Regions from separate parts of the Homo sapiens genome. Here region 2 is linked to region 1. The links are contacts of gene promoters, found by promoter capture Hi-C in human tissues and cell types (Jung and others, 2019). All regions are on one chromosome and are shown on one strand. The core of a region is centred on a gene start or on the middle of the fragment in contact, and the rest is flanking DNA. Distances in the headings are between cores, read along the strand shown.

Region 1 (4,444 bases), core at 1,426-3,925:
GGTAGAAAGGCTTGGTGAGTCAGATTCCTTCTCTCCTCTAGTCAAAGAGAATACTCTTTTCCTTCATGTGATCTTTTATCAAATTTTAAAAATAATAAGTGTAACATTAATTGCTTAAAAGTAGGTATCAATTTCAGAAAGTGATTTAGATAGGGCAGGTTTTTATTTTTACAATATCTAACAGATGCCTTTTGACGGTATGACCTTGGACAATCAAAGCTTCAGTTTCTTTTCTGGCAATGTTTTGTAAAAACTAGACCTACATCACAGGCTTGGTGTAAGAATTAAGAAGTATATATTCATAAAATATAGAAATTATTCTGTACATTGCAAAGACACATAGTTAACATTAATCAATCCTTGTTAATATTATTAAATACAGTGTGGCTGGAAGCACTAGTCTCCCTTAACTTGTAGTTAATTCTTCCAAGTTCTGTTTTTTTCCTTTCTGTGTGCTGCCTCTTCCTCCCACACCAATCCCATGTTGGCCATTTTGCCCTATGGTGACAGAGAAAGAACTCTGTAATCATTACCCTAAAATATATTAGCAATTGAATTTTAAATCTTTGAAGACTCATTGTTGTTAAATTTTAAAAATGAATACATTTTACCTTTGGCTAGGGTTCCCAGACTCTCCTTTTGAGGTCTCTCCATTCTTCATCTATTTATTGTTTTCAAAGTTGCCTACCACTTGTGTTGAGATTCCACCCTTTCCTCCTGTTAAAATAGATAATTTGTTAAAGGGTTACAGGATAGTATAAAAGCACATGAAGTTTGAGGCCAGCATATCTGAATTTATTTCTCCATTCTGTCATTGAACAAGTTTTCTGACTTTTTGCAATTTTTTTTGAGTATCACCTCTCTCTAATCTCTAAATTAGGAAAAATCACCTCATTAATTAGTTGAGAGGATTAAATAAGATATTATTAAGCCCCAGGTACTTAGTGGGAAGCTTAAAACAATAGTTGCTTTCTCCTACTTCTCTTCATTGGCATTGAGACATAAATTAGTATCAGTCATTATGGAGGGCATCGCTCTACAAATATTTTGTGACCTATGCATATGTATTGGAATTAGGTATCAGACACTAGTGAAAAAGCGTGGGAGAGAAATAATTTTCGTACTTCTTGGTACTACCGTAAACGATTTCTGCCAGCATATGGATAACTTTGTTTCCCACAGATAATCCTAATCCTGATCATGGTGGACACAGCTCTCCTTATTTTCCTAAAATTTTCTCAGTTGTTATTGATAATGTTGGTACTGTATTTCAGTTTCTTTATATATCAACATTAAATATTTGCCTGTCACCAAAATGTGAAGTAAAAAGCAAAAAAAGTCCTATAAAAGGTTTATTTTGACTGTTTTTATTTTTTCACGTGGCGCATCTATCAAAGAGCATTTATTTACTCATGGCAGGGGAGGCGTATCAGGGAATCAAATCTAATTTAATTTCTTAACTTTTAATTTTTCAAAGTTGGGATTGGAAGAGAGGCTGAGAAAAAACTCTCTTGGCTGTTTTAAAAGCTAAGGATTAGTAGCAATGTTCTGACCTGAAATTTAGGTCTTGTGATTTCTTTCCAAGAGATTTTTCACTGCATGAAAAACCTGTTTGCAATGGCCTTTTTAATTTAATTCAATCTTAATTGGATACGAACCGTAAAAATCTAAGGGATTGTTAAAAGGCCTAAAAGTGCACAAAAGTAGTTTTTAAGAGTAATATTAATAATCTGGAAGTGAAAAATTAACTTTGCTAAATTACTGAACCTTTCTACCTAGCTTCTAGGTTCATTTTGTATTTCTTTCAAATTTTGAACGTTTCAAGGACGGAAAATTTCATCCTTAGAGCATACGCACTGTTTAGGGGACGGTTCAGCCATTTTCAAAAGGAGGCTAAGCTTTGTGTTCAGAGGTGTATATTTTAGGAATTCTCCACGTGGCTTAATTACGAGCATGCCTTGATTGTTAGCAGAGGTAAGTCAGGCTTCATCTTGTAATGAGACCCCTTGGAAAAAAGTCTGCTGCTGAGGCACCAACACAGGGTGGGTGAGGGCCAGCTTTCTAAAACGGCCTTTCATAACCTGGCGAGAATCACTGAGCGCTATGAGGCCACCGCCTGACGGAGAAGCCAATGCCCAGAGGCTTTTTCTTTCGCAAGAGATGTAAATGGCCGGCTTGGGGGAATAGGTAGGGAAAAGGGTTCTTTGGGTCACCCATTTTTTCTAGTCCCATTACTGACTCTTGGAGAATATTCAGATGGTGCCAGGTAGCACCATGCCTATTATTATTCTCACTGAGACAAAAGTCAGCGGCTGGTAACTGGTGTCCATTCTTTCGCTTGAGTGGGTTGGAGAAAGACGGCATGGCTGGAGGAATTTGTTTTGTTTTGCTTTGGAGCGGGCTTCCTCAGTTGCATCCTGCATCGGGCGGGCACAGCCCCGGGCTCTGGGAAGACGCCGCTCGGCAGCCGCAGTGGCCGCTGCATCAATGGGTTTTGGGGCAGGGAGGTGCGGAGCCCAGCCTGCGCTCCTGGCTACCCCTCCGCGCCCCGCCGCCGCCCACAGCCTACCCTTCTCCTCTGCAGCCGGTAGGCGGCCGTAACACGGGCGGGCCGAGCACGTGGGCGCCTCCGTCACACCCTCACACATACACACACGCGCGCGCGCACACACACATACGCATGTACACGCGCACCCGCACCCGCGCGCCTGTATCCCGTGCTGTTTCCCTGGCAGACACACAGGCGCTCACGAGTCTCTCCTTGCCAGCCTGCAGGGCGGCGACCCCCAAAACCCAGCTCCGGGTCCCAACCTAGGCAAGAAGCTGCTTCTCTGCCAACAGCTCCTCTTCGGCCTCCGTCACAGCCACCTGGACCCTACCCTTTCGCGACTGCTGCTGCTGCTGCCCGGACGTGGAAGCAGCAAGAGGCGCTTGGTCAAGACACACTGACGGTAATGGCAAGCGCCTACGCTAAGGGCACAACTGGGGGTGAGGTGGGGCTCGCCATTAGCCACCCAGGAGCCTGGGCACCAGCACCGGGAACGAATTGATGGATGGATGCCGGGAAGGACTCGCTGCGTCCTGGGGTGGGAGGAGGGAGGGCAGCTCAAAAGCCCTGGGAGGGAGAAGCTGGGCTGGGCGGGCAACCGTCTAACTCTGCATCTCTGTACAATCAGGGTGGGGGGCGACAGGCTGCACATGTAAGGGGAAGCACATGGGTTGAAACGTGCCGCCATCCTTTCTTCCCGTCGTGGAAATTGCCCACAGCATCCCCAGAGACCTACTCGTTTCCAAGCCAAGTCGGGGTTGGTTGAAGGGTGGGGTCCAACACGGGAAAGTCCAAGAGGAAAGTTGGGAGGGTTGGGGCAGAGAGAGACGCGAGGTGAATTGGAAGCTAAACCTCGTGCAGGTGGGCGATGGGGCGGGGAGAGCAGAGAGCTTTATTCCTCATTCGCTTCCGTTCGCTTTAGCAAAGGCAGAAGGCGACTACCGAGGACAGAGTGTTTTCACGTGACCACAGTTCCCCTTTGCTTGAGGTATCCTGTGATAAATGGCCCGAAAGGGGGCCTTTCGCCGTACGAAAGGCACGTGGCTGCTGGAGAAATCACGGCTCCTGTGTTTCTGCGCATCCTGGAATTTGAGAGTGTGGCGGTGAGGGTGGTGCTGCTGGGACTGTAAGAAGATGGGAAGCAGTTAGAAACCCAGATCGTTTCTACCTTTCTTTCACTAGGCTGGTCTGTGTGTGACTGGGAAGAAGACGGTATTGAGTACAGGGAAATCCTTGCACTCTAACGTAGCGCACCAACTGGATACATAAGAATGAATCAAGACGCCCGAGGCGTTCGGGAACAGGCATGACCCACCCAGTGGCACAGGCTGCGGGAACGGGAATTATTTTTCCTGAGCTGAGAAGCAGCCTTTGATGTGCGTTTTAGGAAGCAAAGCCCCCAGGCTCGCGCTCTCCAGCGTCCCGCTTTCCCTTTCCATCCTCCTCCCTAGCTGGGAAAGGCTGGAGTAAGACGGGGCGGGGTCCGGACTCCGGCGCAGTGACGTAAGCAGTGTTTGGGTGCTTATGCAAATAAGTCTGCGACGGTTTCTTCTGGTCTTGCCGTTTTCCCCTCCAGATCTTATAGGTAGACCCAATCTTAGTCTGCACCATCCTTGCGGTTCACTACTTAAGACGTATGGGAGAAATGAAGGATTTGCTTTATATGCTGCTTTGGGGCTCCTCATCGCCCATGCTGTAAAAGCTATTTTCTACCTGTCAATGCCTGATTGCTTTTCTGCTGTGCCAGCAACAAAGTGTTTGTTTTGAGGAATTATTATGTGCAGACACAGCCCCAACAAGCCCCTCACCCACCCAACCTCATTTCTGCAAGATCATTGCTGAAACACAGACCTATTTATGTCTTAGGCGCCCAGTACTGGGCTTGACTTGTACGTT
Region 2 (4,444 bases), core at 929-3,428, 87 kb before region 1:
ATGTCTTAAGAAGCTGGACTGAACTGGTCTCCTAGTCTCCTGGAACAGCTTAAATGGGGTAAGTTACTACTGTGCCTGATTTCAGGAACACCTCAGAGGGACATTCTTTTAAAAAGTCTAGAATAATTTCACACAAAAATCCATCAAATTCTACCAGTCACCTCAAAATGAACTGTGAACAAAACAGACACAGCATTAGGAAGTTTGCTTTTCAGGTATGTCGGAGTTTGCAAGAAAAAAAAATACTTTTAGTGTTTACCTCTGAATTTACCAGTGTTTGACTTTGAGTTATATTATTTTCTTCTAAATCCAACCAGCTAGGGTGATTGGGCCTCTTGGTCCTCTGAACTCAGAGGGCTTAAAATGAGACTAGAAAAATATGTTGGTATCTCCCCACACTTCCACCCTGCCTCTAAGTGCCCCATAGAAACACTTTTTTTACTCTGTAGTCCTCCAGTCTATTGAGCCCTCCACATCCTCGCTAATCATACTGCCAACTAAAGAATGACAGGTTCATAAATTTGGAAAGCAGAGCTTTATTTCTTATAAAGGGTTGCAGCCTGCAAGTGGCCATTTTCACAGCCTGGGAAGCATAGCCTCTGGGCAGAGGCCAGAAACAGGCACTTGAGGAGGCTCAGAAGAATAAGACAGATGTATGCTGAATGGGTGGCTACATATACATATTCAATGAGCTATAGAAGGAGTCATGAATGTCATAAATATTTCCAAAAGGAGAAACGTGCACAGGCACAATTGGGCCTCATGCCTCTTCATGGGTCCAAGGGTGGAGTTTTTGGCTGTCTAAAAAACATGAAAGAGAAGACAGGAAGATACTTAATGTGGATCCTCTGTAGACTGTCCAGAATCACTCCATAGTTGCTGGTCTCTTATTAAGAAGGAATGCAGGTCAGTAGTGTTGAAACTGCAAAAGGGAAGAGCAGCAGTTGAAATCAGAACCAGTTTAAATCAGTCGGTTGAAATCGGAGATGGAGTCTTTTGAAAGGGATGACTTCTCTTTATCCCTTAGGAAAGAAAGCCTAATAGTGGATAGCAAATTAGGGATTATAATGAGGCATGCCCAACCTCCTATGCCATCATGGCTGGAACTCAGCTTCCAAGGTTTCTCTGGGGTCCCTTTGGCCAAGAAGAGATATGTTAGGGGTGCTTAGAATTTTTTTTTATTTGTCAACACCAACCTCCTGTCCTCATCTCTTTTTTAACTTAGATTCAGGATTCATTAGTAACATCTTTCAACCACCCTTCTCTCACTCTTGATTTCAGTAGCTAAGTCTACGCTGACTCTGGCGTAGTTGAAGTTTGCTGGATAAAATATTACAACTGCACAGAACAGAATAAAATTACGATAACTGACATTAAATCAACACTATTTCCTGACAATACTAGTGGATTTCTGATAAGGTCCATCTCTTACAGGGAATATTACTGTCAGTAGGGTTTGAGAAGTGGACTTTATAGGATTTGTAAAAACGATAATAAATAATGAATATGTAAATACATGTTCCCTGTTTATTGACTTAGTGGAAGCCTATTTTTATCCTTAGGCCAGTATGTTATAGCAGAAAAACACCACACAGTTATGAACTAAATGACCTGAATTTGAGCCCTGGATCCACTTCTAGACTCTTGAGTCACATAATTGCTTGAGCCTCAGAAGCTTCTTCCCACCTAACTTACTTCAAATGACTCCAATGGCATATGAAATGTTTTGGAAGTACTCTGTCCTTACTGCAGAATAAGGTGCAGAAGGAATTCAGGTATGGCTGTCTTCATGTGCAGCTGCAATTCTCTCAGTCTTCAACTATGAGCTATGAACAGCAGCAACTCTAATTTAAAAGCTGTTTAAAAATATCTCTCTTCACAAATCTTTCATTAAAGTGTCTCCCAAAAGCTCAGTGCATTCCATAAAATTCTTCTTAAATCCTTGCTATACTTTAATGAAAAAATGCCAAGGGAAAATTTATTTTTTCTTTAAATATCATTGTATTAGATTTGGACTTGAGATACATTTTTTGCTTAGATTTTTTTAGTTCCTGAAATTTTATTATGGTGTTTATGTTGTTGTTCCATTTCAGCACAAATTGTCTAAAACCAACTGGGTGCACTGCAATTCAATTCTGCAGCTGACCAATTGGAGTTAGCACAGATTCCACAAATTATAAGACTTGGTCCCTAAGAAGGCTGCCCTGACTTGATACACTACAGCCACACTTTAGAGTTATCAGGAGACACTCATACTTCTTATGACTGACTGGCTATAAATTCAGAGGTTTCCATGACTCTAAATCAGTTTTGATAACTTGCTAAAAGGACACAGAAATCAGGAAAGCACTATACTTATGATTACAGTTGTATTACAAAGGACATAAGTCAGGAGAGCCAGCCAAATGAAGAACACATACAGTGCAACCTAGAAAGAAACACAAGGCTTCTATGAACTCATCCTACGGAATCAGAGCACATCACCCTCCTGCCACATCAGTGTATTTACCAACCAGGAAGATAATCAATTTTTGATGTCCAGAGTCATTATTGCAGTTTCATTAAGTAGGTATTATTGGTTAAATCATTGAGCACCTGATTGAATTCAACTTCCAGCCTTTCTTTTTTCCCCTGATGTTGGAACTTGGGCTGATACCATGTGAGTCAAAGCTCCAATACCTTTATCACATGGTTGGTTTTTTGGCAGTGGCTTATGCCCATCACAAATCATCTGGCTAACAGAAGCCAATAGTAATGACCATCATGGGTCATCTCATTAACATAAATTATCAAAGCCTGCTGTGAATAACAAAGAAATACTATCACTTGGAAAATCCCAATAATTTATTGTTTCCTAGGAACCAGAGGCAAATGCCAGTCAAATTCTTTATAATTTAACAGCTATTTTTTTTATTACTAATAGAAATGCCCATAAACAGGTGGGATTTATTGGTATATGAATGTAACATAGACAGCACATAATATTTACTACTATGTGTTGGCTGACAGTTCATATAAATCAAAGTAGCTTGGTCTGCAGCTCTATACTCCATCAATTCTGTCACCTCTCTAGGCAGTTATTTAAATTTAATTCCTCAGGTTTTTTTAAATAATGACAATAAAATATCTACCTCCTTATTAATTATTTGTTACCCATCCTGGCCTTTGTTAGTTTCTAGGCTCTATCAAGGCTCCCCTTCCCTCCAAAAATTAGAGAAAAATATGTCCAACTATGTTGAGTTTTTGAGGGAATGAGAAATAAGTATTAGGATCCAGTATGCACTGAGTGGCCAGCCACAAGTGCATCTGGTGAGGGAAAGGTAAAAGGAAGCTCTTATTGGTAACATGGGAAAAGTTCACATAAGCTACTTATAAACAGAGTTTATTCGTTCTAGAGACTCAAAGACAGAGTTGTTGTCAGTTCATTGGCAGAGATGCCATTACTGGGCAAATATTCTTTCCAGAACATCTTATCCGAATTACTACAGTCCTAAAGAAAATCTAGTAATAAGTCTTGTCATAGGAGTATATGAATATGTGTGAAACATACACGCTGTGGAAAACAGGAAACATGTGAAAGATGTGAAAGGATTTCTTGTGGGGTTTTTAGAAAGTCCTTGGAAACAATTTCTTAGTTAAGCGTGTTTGTATGAACCCATCTCCTTTGTGCCTTCTCAGACCTATTTTGTCTGGATCTAGCAAAAGTGATTTTATCCTGACATCTGCAGATTTCACAGATCAATGTCATAGATGTTGTCTTGTTTATTTTTAAATCCTTTCTGTTGCACATGGGAGGTGACAAATATGAGTTCAAGGGATTTTCATGGAATCCTAACCCAAAGAGATGACCATTATTTTGTCTTAATTACTTCAGTTACCTTCATTTGGTTCAAAGGGGTGGGACGATTTGGGAATCAAGGGAAATTTTATTAGCATTCTTTTACAAAATAAGAAATGGAAAACTCAGCTCAAACTGGTTCAGTCAAAATAAGGGATGTAATTTCTCTTGCAGCTCATGGATAGTTCTGCCTTCTGTTGTAATCGGTTTGCTAATGAAAAAAAAAAAATTAAGTCCTGTAAAACATTTTAAAGAGCTTTATTCTGAACCGATATGGTGACCATGCCTCAGGAACACAGTTTCAATAGGTCCTGAGAAAGTGCACACAAGGCAGTTGGGTTGCAGTATGGTTTTAAACATTTTAGGGAGACAGAAATTACAGGTAAAATCTTAAGTCAATACATGGAAGTTGTACATTGGTTTAGCCTGAAAAGGTGGGACATCTCAAAGCTGGGATTTTTAAGTCATAAGATGTTTTTAAGGATTGTTAGTTTGGCATTTGGTTAAAGGAGCTAAGCTTTGTCTAAAGACTTGAAGTCAGTTAAAAGGAATGCTTTAGTTAAGGCAAGGGGGTCTGCTATCTGTCATGTGATGCCATACCAGACT

The links. Contacts are between HindIII fragments. The study calls those that stand out against the background at their distance.
Region 2: a contact is called between a fragment that was not itself captured here and the fragment with the promoter of SLC6A15 in region 1, in 3 of the 25 tissues and cell types used here (H1 embryonic stem cells, dorsolateral prefrontal cortex and thymus).

The regions. Positions count from the first base shown.
Region 1 is chr12:84,911,030-84,915,473 of GRCh38, reverse strand. It overlaps SLC6A15 (solute carrier family 6 member 15), which reads left to right and starts at 2,675. Exons shown (of 12, transcript NM_182767.6): 1 at 2,675-2,951. LOC102724680 (a long non-coding RNA gene) reads right to left here and starts at 2,637. Exons shown (of 4, transcript XR_945154.3): 1 at 2,570-2,637; 2 at 612-717. RefSeq lists enhancers at 1,914-2,460, 2,461-3,008, 3,557-4,105. The HindIII fragment of the contact is 2,941 bases long and covers 587-3,527 here.
Region 2 is chr12:84,997,100-85,001,543 of GRCh38, reverse strand. No RefSeq gene overlaps it. Among named protein-coding and RNA genes, the nearest start is that of TSPAN19, 37 kb to the left of the region's middle. The HindIII fragment of the contact is 5,883 bases long and covers 1-4,444 here.